Linked DNA regions of Homo sapiens: region 1 is linked to region 2. Evidence: promoter capture Hi-C in 16 types of primary human blood cells and fetal thymus (Javierre and others, 2016). All regions are on one chromosome and are shown on one strand. The core of a region is centred on a gene start or on the middle of the fragment in contact, and the rest is flanking DNA. Distances in the headings are between cores, read along the strand shown. Region 1 overlaps ATP6V1G1 (ATPase H+ transporting V1 subunit G1). Region 2 holds the start of NAA35 (N-alpha-acetyltransferase 35, NatC auxiliary subunit).

The links. Contacts are between HindIII fragments. The CHiCAGO score rates a contact against its expected background, and 5 or more counts as called.
Region 1: a contact is called between a fragment that was not itself captured here and the fragment with the promoter of NAA35 in region 2, in 1 of 17 cell types (fetal thymus). The highest score is 5.9, in fetal thymus.

Annotation. Positions count from the first base shown.
Region 1 is chr9:114,588,010-114,594,787 of GRCh38, forward strand. ATP6V1G1 (ATPase H+ transporting V1 subunit G1) reads left to right here. Exons shown (of 3, transcript NM_004888.4): 2 at 4,543-4,643. Among named protein-coding and RNA genes, the nearest start is that of ATP6V1G1, 3.6 kb to the left of the region's middle. RefSeq lists an enhancer at 1-195. The HindIII fragment of the contact is 2,179 bases long and covers 1,553-3,731 here.
Region 2 is chr9:85,938,985-85,946,284 of GRCh38, forward strand. It overlaps NAA35 (N-alpha-acetyltransferase 35, NatC auxiliary subunit), which reads left to right and starts at 2,162. Exons shown (of 23, transcript NM_024635.4): 1 at 2,162-2,289; 2 at 3,171-3,299. The coding sequence starts at 3,176. RefSeq lists a silencer at 2,066-2,745. The HindIII fragment of the contact is 5,629 bases long and covers 1-3,186 here.

The sequences.
Region 1 (6,778 bases), core at 1,392-3,891, about 29 Mb after region 2:
TGCGGGGTGCGGGCGTGCGTATAGTCGCGGAAGGTTGTGTGTTTCGAAGCTTTGAGGAGCTGAGGCTCTGGAAGGCTTGCGGATCGCCTGGAAGCCACGATGTGAGATGGTAAATTGGGCGTGGAAACAATAATGGGTTACCGTCCTTGGGGCCTGGAGGCATGTGAAATGGGCTCTCCAAACGGAGCTCTTTGTTCTTCTTCTCTCCCACTTAACCGCTCTGGGGTGGTCAGTCTCGGTGAAGGGAGCCAGCATCCACACAGTTGCTTGGTCTAGAAACCTGGAGTCCTGCTTGCCTCTTCTCCCTCCCTCATTTAGTCAGTCGCCAAGGCTTGCGTATCTTTCACTTTTTCCCCCATGTCTACTACCAGCGTCTTAGTCCAGGACACCAGTTTCTCTAAAGGTACTGTAGTTGTCTAAATCGTTGGCGTGTGTGCGTGTGTGTGTTTCTGATATGTGGCAAGCGCAGTGTGTGTGTGTTTCTAACATGTGGCAAGCGCAGTGTGTGTGTGTGTGTGTGTGTGTGTGTGTTTCTGTCTAATATGTGGCAAGCGCAGTGCCCAGTGCATCAGTTGTCTCCCCTAACGTGGCATTCAGTGTCGCAGTGAAGGAAGCAGGTATTGGGTCAGTTAATTAATTGCAGGAGAGATGAGGGCTGGAGTGGAGAAATGTAAGGTTGCTAAAGAATTTAACAGGTGAGTTTAATCTAGACTGGGGAGTGGAAGAACCCGTTCTGGTCCCCTCCAGTCAATCCATTCTCCTCTCTGCAATCAGTCATCCTTCTAAAATGCAAATATGTGACTTCCTGCTGGTAAGGAACAAAATAAATAAATAAGTGCAGATATGATTTCCCTACCGCCTTTGTAGTCAGACGTTTAGTTCCTGCAGAAGAAAGCTCAAATTCCTTAATGAAGTTGGGGAGGCTCTTGTGGGTCAGGCCTGGTGCTTTCCTCCAGCTATACTGAATCGTTGTGGTCCCTCAGAAGCAGCATGATGTCTTTCACCTGCAGGTTTTTGCACACGCTGTTTCTTCTGACGTGAGAAGCCTTTTCCAATTCTCCTCCCCTTTGTTCTCTGACCCTTAGTCTTCCATCAGACCTCAATTTAGGAAACACTTCTTCCCGGGAAGCCTTTCCTGACTCATGCTTGTCCCCCGGACTAGGCTTGGAGTCCCTCCCAAGTGCTGATTTCTGCCACTGCCGTGCAATAACCTGTTTGTTTATATGGCTCAGTCACTAGACTAAGCTTCTGGAGAACAGAAACTATGTCTCATTTAACTTTATGTATCCAGTTTCCCGTCTGGTGAGAAAGATGCTTCTATCCCTATTTTACAGATAGTAAAAATGAGGCTCAGAGAGAAATGATTTATCCATACCCTGGGAAGCAACATAGTTGGGACTCAGAAGCCTCTTTTTCCATGCAAGGCGAAGATACTGATCTTAGTAATTCCTTGGTGTTTCTCCTAGTATAGGAGTTATTCTATCTGACATCCAACTAGATTTCAAGCATGTCTCCTCTACTTGTGCAGTTAGGGGTTGTGTGGTACTTGGAAAGCTTTCTTTGAGGGTGTTGGGAATGAGAAGAAGCCTTTTGTTCTTGCTCCGGTGACTGGAAAGTTCTTTGTTCTTCCCAGAATATTTCCAGTCATGCCCTTGATAGTGTATTTCCAGAATGACTTCTCACAGTTTGTGTTCTGATGGCTCATCAGTAACAGAAGTTGTATCTGTCGGGAGGGATAGGAGAATAGATTGGGGAAGTGCAGGAAAAAATGCTTGGAATAGGTAAGAATAATTCTGAGTGCCCTAGCCAGGTAGGATTTATGTTTTATACCTTTATCCTGTCAAGCCTGGTGCAGGGTTTTGTATATGTCAGGTAGCTGTGAATTGGTTTTAAAAAGTATTAATTTGGCTGGGCGTGGTGGCTCACGCCTGTAATCCCAGCACTTTGGGAGGCTGAGGTGGGTGGATCACCTGAGATCAAGAGTTTGAGACCAGCCTGGGCAATATGGAGAAACTCCGTGTCTACTAAAAATACAAAAGTTAGCTGGGCGTGGTGGTGTGCGCGTGTAGTCCCAGCTACTTGGGAGGCTGAGACAGGAGAAACGCTTGAACCCAGGAGGCAGAGGTTGCAGTGAGCGGAGATCTGTCCCACAGCACTCCAGCCTTGGGGACAGAGGGAGACGCCGTCTCAAAAAAAAAAAAAAACAAAAAACAAACCAAAGTATTAGTTTATGGCTTACATACTTCTCAGATTTTTTTTTTTTTTTTTGAGACAGAGTCTCACTCTGTCACTCAGGCTAGAGTGCAGTGGCACCATCTTGGCTCACTGCATCCTCCACCTCCAGAGTTCGAGATTTTGTGCCTCAGGCTCCCAAGTAGCTGGGATTACAGGTGCCTACCACCATGCCCATCTCTACTAAAAATACAAAAACATATAAATTAATACATAAATAAAAAAATAAATTTTTGTATTTTTAGTAGAGACAGTGTTTTACTATGTCGGCCGGGTTCTTCTCAAACTCTCGGCCTCCCAAAGTGCTGGGATTACAGATATGAGCGACTGCGCCTTGCCTGTCTCAGAATTGTTAATAGTTAGGAACAGAGAGGTAGTCAGAAGAACTGCAGTTTGAAAATTTGCCTTTCTTGATTTATAATTATGGTTGATTTGCCCAGTTAAGAGTTGGGAAGAGGCAGTATATAAAATGATCCCATCCAGTTTTTTTAATGAAATCATTGAGTTGGACCTTAAATTTTTTTTATTATTTTTTATTTTATTTTATATATTTTGTTTATTTATTTTTTTGAGATGGATTCTCGCTCTGTCGCCCCCAGGCAGGAGGGCAGTGGCGTGATCTCGGCTCACTACAATCTCTGCCTCCCAGGTTCAAGCGATTCTTCTGCCTCAGCCGCCCGAGTAGCTGGGACTACAGGTGCCTGCCACCATGCCCGGCTAGTTTTTGTGTTTTTAGTAGAGACAGGGTTTCACCATAGTGGCCAGGTTGGTCTCGAACTCCTGACCTTGTGATCTGCTCACCTTGGCCTCTCAAAGTGCTGGGATTACAGGCGTGAGCCAGCGCGCCCGGCGTGGACCTTAAAATTTTAAAAAAGTTTGTGTTAATGGCATATTTCATTGGAGTGAAACAAAACACTGGCTCCCATATGTAAGGCCCAAGAAGAACAAGATTTAAGAGAAATACGATTTTCTGTTTAAATATTTTTGATTTTTAGAGGCCCCTGTCAAAATTGAATGTTGAAGATGTTTGCCAAAGGCAGTAAATGGTATTATCCTGAGTTATAAATGCAGGGAGCCATGGGAGTTGGGAGGTGATGTCTTGTGAAATCATGCGGAGCTACTGCATAATGTTCAGGCCATGAGTGTTATTTATAGATTGTTGGTTTCGAAAGTATCTTTAGCTTTGAAATACAGCCCATTATAGCTGATGGGAAGATAGCATGTGAAGGATTGGGGTACAGGTGGCCGAAGCAGACAGTAGTAGGCCAGAAATAATACTGGAGTGAATGTGGACTTGCAGAAATAGTTCTTGGAGTTTTGAGAGAGAGACCTGTTAATTGTTTCAGACTAGCATCAGGGAATGTTGATGTCATGGGGTCATTTCATTACAGGTCCAAAGTTCTGTTCTGAATCAGGATGTGGAAGGTTAAGTTCATTTTCACTCATTCGCGTGGACTCTAGACAGTTGGTATACAATGATGTACAGTGTTGTATAACAAAGCTTAATTTTAGATGCAGGATGTCTTTTGCTCTCAAATAAATAGGTTGATGGTCTAGAACCTCTCTTTTTTTTTTTTTATTGGTGAGCGGAGACTCAAAGCAGAGATTATATGTTGGCTGTCCTTGTGGTCTGTTTTCATGTAGACTCTGACCAAACCTAGAGATTTTTTCCAGCTGTATGTTAAGCCACTCACTTCTAGAAACCAAAATACCTGTGTCTCCTCTTCTCTCAGCCACTTGTGCAGTCTTACTGTCCAGTACTCCTCATTCAGCATTCCTTCTCAGTCACCACTGTCCTTACTTCCTTGTGACAGGGACTGCTTTTAGTTTCCAGTGTTACATTATATAGTTGGTTCATTAGTTACATTATATGTTGCTGTCCCTTGCGAGCTTATTAGCCTTCTTGCTAAGCATCTGAGTAGGGTTGCACCTTTAATCAGCAGCATACTTAAGGTGTTTACTTCTGGAGAAGAGTTCCCTAGATGGTTAATGTTACTCATTTTATGTTGGTTCTTAATAGTTGAGATTGAGAGAATATTCTGACACATTCTACAATTTTTTTCCATCTTTTTAATGGGCTGTAGTTACAGAAGGTATTCATTTTTGTCTTGTCACTTCCTAGTTAAGTACAGCCTATAGGAGGGAGGAACCTGTACTGTTTGTTAGCTCTGAATTCCCTCTTTCCCATGCACATCTCTTCGGACTGTGTCATAATTTATTCTTGGCTTATTGTTATAATATACCATCTTGTCTCTGCTTGCTTTTCTACTTTTAACCACTTCCTGATATAGCTCTCTCCTTTGAAAACAGGAAAGAACCGGAGGCTGAAGCAGGCCAAAGAAGAAGCTCAGGCTGAAATTGAACAGTACCGCCTGCAGAGGGAGAAAGAATTCAAGGCCAAGGAAGCTGCGGTGGGGCACCATTTGTTTTTGTTACTGCTTTAGTTTCTGATCCCCTGTCCCGCCAAGGCTTTCAGAATATCCAGCATAGCTCAGAGATCCTGGTCGAAGTTTGAAAATGTGGTAGCTGTGTGTTTTATTGGCTGCTCAGGCATCTGTCTTTTAGGATGATCAGTTTTTCCATTCATATTGATTTCTAATTTTCATTTATTCACTCATTTAACACGTATCTGTTAAGCAGTTAACATGCGCCAGGTACTGTGCTAGATGCTAGGGATCAGTTGTGACCAGGAATAGACATGGTCCCTTCCCTCATGGAGTGTAGCTTACCATCCAGTGGTCAGGGAGACTCAGTAATACAGTGCAAATCATGCAGAGCTACTACTGAAAAATGCTGTGACGGTCATAAACATAAATCAAATGGAGCCCCACTTTAGTATATTGTATATAGTACAGACATTTACCAGTGATGTAGGCTATACTATGGTGCATACAATAATAGTACAAAAACAGATCACAGAAAGCATAGAGGAGGCAGGGACAATTGTGGAAAGGGGAAAGGATGGATAAGGGCCTCACAGAGAAAAGAAACTATCAGGACTCTTGGGTGCAGGTAACAAAATATAATTAAAACTGATTCTAAATGGGATGTATTGGCCTATATAATTAAAAACCCAAGAGCTTAAATAATATGCTCAGGACTTTCTCTCACCTCTGTGTTTGGCTTTGTATCATTCTCAAGTTCTACACTGTGGCCTCTAGTAGTTCCAGCATACACACTTCCAGGCCCAAGTCCAGTGAGTAAAGGCACATACCTCCCTCCTTGCATTAAGTAGCAAAAATTTTGATCAATTTTTTATTTTTTCTTTTTAAGAGACAGAGTCACACTCTATCATTCAGGCTTTAGTGCAGTGGTGTGATCATAGCTCACGGTGACCTGGAGCTTCTAGGCTTAAGCGATCCTCCCCTGCCCAGCCTTCTGAGTAGCTAGGACTGTAGGCATGATCCATCATGCTCAGCTAATTTTTTTTTTGTTTTTGTAGAGATAGGGTCTTGCTGTGTTGCCTTGGCTGGTCTCGAACTCCTGGCCTCAAGTGATCCTCACATCTCAACCTCCCAAAGTGCTGGATCATCTTTGTTCTTGGCAATTACAGTGCCATTAAAACGTGGCTGGGCATAGTGACTCACACCTGTAATCCCAATACTTTGGGAGGCTGAGGTGGGAGGATTGCTTGAAGCCACAAGTTCAAAACCAGCCTGGGCAATAAACCAAGACCCTGTCTCTACAAAAAAATAAGACAAATACAAATAAAACTTAACATGTTTCTTTGATTCTTGAACTGGGGCTGATAGGTGCTGTAAGTTGTCAGGCTGCTCATAAAACAATGTAGAAATACCCTTGTGTCAGGGCAGCCATCATCTTCATTTTTTTTTTTTTTTTTCTGAGACGGGGAGTTTTGCTCTTGTTGCCCAGGCTGGAGTGCAATGGCATGATCTCGGCTCACTGCAACCTCTGCCTCCCAGGTTCTAGCGATTCTTCCACCTCAACCTCCCGAGTAGCTGAAATTGCAGGCATGCGCCACCACATCCGGCTAAATTTGTATTTTTAGTAGAGATGGGGTTTCTCCTTGTTGGTCAGGCTTGTCTTGAACTCCCGACCGCAGGTGATCTGCCTGCCCCGGCCTCCCAGAGTGCTAGGATGACAGGTGTGAGCCACCGCGCCCAGCGCCCCCCGCCCCTTTTTTTTTTTTTTTCCTGTCCGAGATGTAGTCTTGCTCTGTCACCCAGGCTGGAGCGCAGTGGCGTCATCTCAGTTCACTACGACCTCCACCTCCCAGGTTCAAATGATTCTCCTGCCTCAGCCTCCCAAGTAGCTGAGACTGCAGGTGTGCGCCACCATGCCCGGCTAATTTTTGTATTTTTAGAAGAGACGGGGGTTTCACTGTGTTGGCCAGGCTGGTCTTGAACTCCTGACCTTGTGATCTGCCTACCTTGGCCTCCCAAAATGCTGGGATTACAGGCGTGAGCCACCACGCCTGGCCCATCTTCATATTTTTACATTCTTTTTTCTTTTTCGTGGCACAGGCCTAGGAGGTCCCAATGACATGTGCCCTCATATTCTTACATTCTGTGCTGTAGTTGATTAT
Region 2 (7,300 bases), core at 912-3,411:
ATTCTTAATTTTTAAAGTTTTTTGAGACAGTCTTGCTCTGTTGCCCAGGCTGGAGTGCAGTGGCATGATCTCGGCTCACTGCAACCTACACCTCCCAGGTTCAAGCGATTCTCTTGCCTCAGTCTCCTGAGTAGCTGGGAGTACAGGTGCACGCCATCACGCCCGGCTAATTTTTGTATTTTTAGTAGAGATGGGGTTTCGCCAAGTTGACCAGGCTGGTCTTGAACTCCTGACCTCATGTGATCCACCCGTCTCAGCCTCCCAGAGGACTGGGATTACAGGCGTGAGCCACCACGCCCGGCCATTTAAAAATTTTTTAAACCAATTTTTGTGAAGTTCGGTTTACAAACAATAAAATGTACACATTGTAAGTATATACTTCAGTGAAATTTTACAAATGTATTCACCCACACAGGCACTACCTTAATCGAAAACAGAATATTTACATCACTTCAAATCAAGCTCTATCCAACTTAGTCTCTTCTTGAGCCCTGAGCAGCCACTAATCTGTCTTCTGTCACTATAGATGTCTTTTAAGAGCCTGGGGTCTCACTTGGGGAATCATACTCTTGCATTTGATTTCTTACTCTGTCGCCCAGGTTGGAGTGCAATGGCACCATCTCGGGTCACAGCAACCTCTGCCTCCTGAGTTCAAGGGATTCCCCTGTCTCAGCCTCCCAAGTGGCTGGGATTACAGGCGCACGCCACCATGCCTGGCTAATTTTTTTGTATTTTTAGTAGAGACAGGATTTCACCATATTGGTCAGGCTAGTCTCCAACCCGACCTCTCCACTGCCAGCCTCCCAAAGTGTTGGGATTACACGCATGAGCTACCAGCTACCAAGCTCAGCCTGATTTCTTTTACTCAATATATTTTTGAAATTCATTCATGTTGTATGTCAAGTAGTTTATCCCTGTTTATTGATAATTACATTCATTACATTGTATGGATATGCCACAAATTGTTTTTATTCAACAGTTGATGGACATTTGGGTTGTCTGTAGTTTTTGATGATTAAAAACAAAGCTGGGCCAGGCACGGTGGCTCATACCTGTAATCCCAGCACTCTGGGAGGCTGAGGTGGGCAGATCACGAGGTCAGGAGTTTGAGATCAGCCTGACCAACATGGTGAAACCCCATCTCTACTAAAAATACAAAAAACAGCCTGGTGTGGGGGCAGGCGCCTGTAATCCCAGCTACTCGGGAGACTGAGGCACGAGAATTGCTTGAACCTGAAAGGCAGAGGTTGCAATGAGCCGAGATCAGGTCACTGCACTCTAGCAGGGGCGACAAGAGTGACACTCTGTCTCAAACAAAAACAAAAACAAAGCAAAACAAAGCTGGTATGAACATTAACGTACAAGCCTTTGTATGAATATGTTTTTGTTCCTAAGTAAATTCGTAGATTACTGGATCGAATGATAAGTATATGATTATAAGGAGAGATTGTTAAGTTTTCCAAAGTGGTTGTACCATTTTGCATTACCACCACCAACATAACAGAGGTCCAGTTGCTCTGCATCCTTGCCAACATTTGGTATTATCTTTTCCATCTTTTAATTTTGGGCCATCCTAAAGAACAGGTGGTGATAAAGATGTGCTTCTTACCTGCGCCCGTCTATTTATGTAACCCCATTTAAAAACTGATCATTTTATTAATAAATTAAAAAAATCTAAAACATATAAGAATCTGAAATTAAATGTCTGGCTTGACTTTGCAGATATTTTGAATCTATGTTTCCTCACGAAACTCCCAGGCGCTGTATAGGAAACATAAATCCGTTGTCAGGCAGCAGTAGCACGCTGTTGCTCTCGGAGCTTGGCTGCTCGTTCGTGCTCGCAACCACTAAGGTCTACGCAAACCTCCACGGTTTCCTTCCGCCTTCGCGTCACCTTTCTAAGAAATTCCCAGAGGGCAGCGCAGACGGGGCGGGCTCTGAGACTCCGGGCTCCGCCTCTTTCCGGGAACCGCCCACTACCCAGGACTCCGACAGAGGGTGAAAAAAGATAACTTCCGGTCTCGCGATCGTCTCTAATCTCGCGAGAAGAGAAGGCGGCCGCCATCGGCCGAACGGAGGCGGTGGCGAGGGAGGGGGTGTGGCCGGGGAGCGCGAAGTCCCCGGGAGTAAGGGAGAGGGGGCGGGGTCGCGCGTCCCGGGCATACGCATGCGTGCACGCTGCCGGTCGGGCTGGGCTGAGAGGGGAGGGGGCGGCGGCGGCCGAGGCGGCGTCGTTATTTCCGTGGTCCGGACAGTGCGTGGCGGCGCGGGTGACCACGGGAGAAGTAGGTAGGGACCGCCCCTGCGTAGCCATTGAAACCCTCTCGCTCGTGTGTCCGAGAGCCGCAGCCCCCCGCGCGTGTGGCAGATCCTGGGGACCCCAGGTCACCCTGCGGCCCCGGCCCTCCCGCTGCGCGTCAGGTAGGAGCGGCGGGCTCCCCAGTGCCCGCTGTCGGCCGAGGCCCCACTCTTGCCCGGTGTTGCCGAGGCGACGACCCGGCGCCGGACGTGCCCGCCCTCCCGCGCGGCGACAGCTCTGTCCTTGCTTATGCGCCCAGTGGGACCGGGGCTGGGCTGGGCTGACCCGGGCAGGGCGGAAGGGAAGCGTGTGCCCGCCTCAGGTGTGCCTCGGCCCTAGGCCCGGCCGGCGGGACCCTGCGGTGCCTGCCGGCTCCTCATTGCTCCCGGCGAGGTTCTGCCTGGGTCCGGGCCGGCTCTGGCCCGGGAGAGGTCCCAGCGAGCTCTGGCCAGATGAAGGGCTACCTTGATTGACTTCGGTAGCTGCCGCATGGGGTCCTGGGCTGCGAGAGGGGACCCTGAATAGTGCCTTGGTCTTTTGTGGCTATTATTGAAAGTTGGAAGCTCTGGAGTTGTTCTTTTCGGGCCAGAGGTGAGATGGTTTGTGATTTTTCTTCTTAAACAGTAGGAAGGCAAAATGTTTATGGGCCCTGGTAGGTGGTGGGCTAATAGTAAGCAGCAGGAGTGTTAATTGACGTGCGATTTGATTGCATTAAGGTTATTCTTTGCAGTACTGTCCTTAGACTCAGAAGAGTTCTGCTTTAAAGAGTTTAGTTAAGACTTCATCCTATGCTGAAACAAACACCCATTTCTGCAAATACTCTTGCCCTGAAAGCTACATCCTCTCTCTTACATCAGTATTAATTTTACAGGCATAATGGTTATGAAAGCTTCTGTAGATGATGACGATTCAGGATGGGAGCTCAGTATGCCAGAAAAAATGGAGAAAAGCAATACAAACTGGGTGGACATTACCCAAGATTTTGAAGAAGCTTGTCGAGGTGAGTCTGATTTTTGGATTAGAAGTTCAGCATCTGGAAGGGGTAGAATGACGATTGTGCTTTCTAAACTTACCTCATTAGATGAAATCAACAGGTAAATGTGGTTTGTTGAGTTTGTTAGCCACACTTATTCTGTATCCTCTAATTTTAACTTTAAAGCAAATGTATATTTGATACAGCATTAAATACAGATGTTGAGGCAGTATTTTAAAATTGAATTTTTCTTGCTTTAACAGGTTAGAGAGAGCAGTAATTTCTAACTGTGGAAAACACTTTGTTAATCTAAAAGATAATAGTATTTTTGTATGTTTGAGGTTTCAGTATGATCAGATCACATCATTCCTTGTTTAAGATTGTCCAGTGGCTTCCTGTTGCAGGTAGAATAAAATCCACCCTCCTTCCCTATGGGTCTATAAAATCTGGTCCCTGCCTGCCACTCAGGTTTCATTTATGTGCCACTGTCCCCGCCAGGCTTATTACATTCCAGTCACAGGTCTTTTTTATCTCTTCGTAATACACACCAAGGTGGTTCTCCCAGGTGTTTGCATTTTTTGTTTTCTTTCTTTTAAATTGCTTTGCCCCTCGCTTTCACACAATTCTTCTTAAGTGTTAACCTCCCTGGTGAGGACCTCAAAACAACCACTCATTCTCTCCTCTGCAATTCCACCTCAGTTGAATCACTTTTTATTTTCTTCATACAGCTTATCTTTTTCAGAAGCCATAATTGTCAATTATTTCTTGTTTATTTTCAGTCTCACTCACTGGAATATAAGCTCCGTGGGGGCAGAGATAATTTCTGTAACCCTAGTATACAGAACAGTTCCTGGCACATAGTAAATTCAATAAATAGGAGTAAATGATTGGAGAAATGAACATGCTTGTTGCTTGAGGGGAAAGAGTCTAGGGAGAGACTGAAGATAAGAGAAAGGAACAAATTAACTAGAGTGAGAGCTTGAACGTTAAAGAGAGGATGAGATCAAGGAGATAGTAGAGAAATTGGGGAAAAGCACAGGGACACACTGAGACAGGAAGGACTGAAGTTAGGATGAAGATAAAAGTATATTTCTAAGTGACAGAGGAGGACTGGTGAAGGAATTCACTCCTGATGGCTTGTATTGTCTCAAGCAGCTTAGGTCTTTTGATGATAGGTAGGGTGTGTTTGGATAGTGCTCTGAAGGGGAGGAGTAAAGACTTGGGGCACCTGCAGGTGGAAAGGGAGCCAGCTGTGTATAAGCAAAATGATAAATCATGTGCCATCCTTTGTTTTGAAATCACTTTTTATAGCCTCAGTGAGACAGTGGAAAGGACGTAAGACTGGGAGTTGGGTGACTGCCTATGTATGTCTATCTAAGGAAGAGAGAAAGAAATGTCAAGTTACAGTGTAGTTTTTGTGCTCAGAGATCTTAGACTATTAAGTGGATTATACCTGTCATCTTGCACTGATTTTAAGTAATCTCTATTAGGGGGCTGTCATTATTAACCTAAATAGGGAAGGTTTTTGAAGGTTATATGGCTTGGGTTGGGCCTTAAGGAGAGATCAAGTTTTTGCAAAGGGAGGTGATAGAGTTATTCTAGACTGAGATGAACTATGTGAGTCAGAGTTTGGTGAGGTTTTTATGTTAGGGGAACAGTAAATAATTTTACTTGGCCACAAAACAATTTTAAATGCTGGGAATTATAGAGCGTCTTTAGTGCCATTGATGTTTTTTGTTTGTTTTTGTTTTTTTGGTTTGAGCTTGTTTTATAGGCAGTAGGAGTAATGGATTTGAGCATAAGATTGAAAGTTTGTTCCCCTTGATGATCAGTACAGTGGCTTGGACCAAGTAGCTTCTCAGTAAGTAATGTAGTAAGCTTTATAGTCAGATATGAGCTGGAGTCCTAACTCTGTCACTTACTAGTTTAGTTTCCTTGGAGTTTAATTAATCTGAATCTTAGTTTTCTACTCTGGAAAACAGAGCTTCTACTTTAGAGAATTTTGGGGATTAAATGAGATAGTGGATGTAAAGTACTCTATAGTAGCATTCAATGATGGTAACTGTTGTTACTCAAGGTATTTAATTTAGAGTTGAAAGCATATAAAGAAGTTTCTCTACCAGCATAATTTATGATGGATTAGGATGAAAAGAGTCTACTTAGACAAGGTTTTGCACTCAGCCCAGATTTGGGCGTTAAGGCCTTGGACTAGGCCTTGACAGAATGGACTAGAAGGGTAACATATGAGAACAAATAAGTTCATGTTGCTGGAGAGGTGAAAGAAACAAGAGAGATGATGTGTGCCTTAAACTTTTCCCTTGGTGACAGCAGAAGAGAGTGAACACGTACACTGCTTCTCACCCTTTCCTTCCCAGATCTTATGGGTGGAGTTCAAAGTACCTTGATTCATAGGTACAAGATATCTTGATAATTTCCTGTTTTATCTTAGAAATTCATGGAAAAGTTTGCATTTTACAACATGTTTGTTGTTTGAGGGGAACACTTATGTTTCATTTATGTTAAAGATCTTTTGCTTCCCACATCATCACATTAATTTGATATTAGGCAGCTGTACAAATTTTTATCCTGTGTCTTTGAATCCCCTGGGACATGATGTTCACCCAGGGTGGTTGCATACCACAGTTTGAAAACCACAGGTCGGCAGAATTTAGTCTCAATGAAATACGACTATAAAGGTCCTCTTAATTTTAGTCTTGCAGCTTTCTTTCATATATACATTCTCTACTTGTTTTTGATTGTAAGAAAAATTGAACCCAAGAAAGCAGTTTAGAATACTGGTGGGAGAGATGTTTTGGCTTGCCTTCGAGTTATATCATAAATTAGCCTTATTTCTTTGTGAAGGAACCTTGAGTGGGAGATAAAGTTTAATCCATGTTTCACTGTGGATAGAGAGGGGGTGACATGCCATTTTGTGGCCAACATACCATCCTATTAACTCTTCCATAATTAGCTCTTGCACTGTGTTGAGTGGCGCAAATGTGAGGTATCCTTCTTGGAACTAAAAAAAAATTGATGTAGAATTAATCTTCATATGTAGATTTAGGACTAAAGACTGTTGGCATTTCTTGAGCCTGTGGTATTTATTTTCCCGTCTTGGAATAATCAGATTTGTAGTCTTGATTATGGTTTAGGCTTCTGTTCTAGTGACTTTCTAAAAACTAAATTTAAAACAGATATGATTACACTCTTTCTTTTAACTTGCAGTAATCTCTCCCCTTTGGTAAGAATGTAATGGCATTTGGCTAGACTCTGGTGATTTTTTTTTTTTGAGATGGAATCTCGCTGTCACCCAGGCTGGAGTGCAGTGGTGCTGTCTCGGCTCACTCGACCTCCCGGGTTCACGCCATTCTCCTGCCTCAGCCTCCCGAGTAGCTGGGACTACAGGCGCCCGTCACCACGCCTGGCTAATTTTTTTGTATTTTTAGTAGAGACGGGGTTTCACCGTGTTAGTCAGGATGGTCTCGATCTCCTGACCTCGTGATCCATCCACCTCGGCCTCTCAAAGTGCTGGGATTACAGGCATGAGCCACTGTGCCCAGCCTGACTCTGGTGATTTTTTTAGTACCACAAAATAGTTGGCATACTGATGGCGAAGTTGTTTTTCATGCACATTTGTACTAAAAGTAGTGGCTCTTTAAAGTCCTGAATCAAATACAAACTTTCAACTTTTATGATTTATTTTATTTCCTACTAGGCAGGTGGCACACATTCCTTATAACTACTCTTGAGGCTCTAATTTTTTTCTTTTCTAAATTATTTATAATTTAGCCATTACTGTTGTTTTGCCTGATAGGAAATATGTGATTATTTTAAGTAACACTTCTAGGCTTGCTTTCTTAAAAAAAAAATTAGTAAGTTAAATTTTTTTTTTCTTTTTAGAGTTAGGGTTTTGCTGTGTCACCCAGGCTGAAGTGCATACAATGCCATGATCATTCCTCACTACAGCCTTGACTATAGGATGGGTTCAAGCAATCCTCTCATCTCAGCCTCCTGAGTAGCTGAGACTA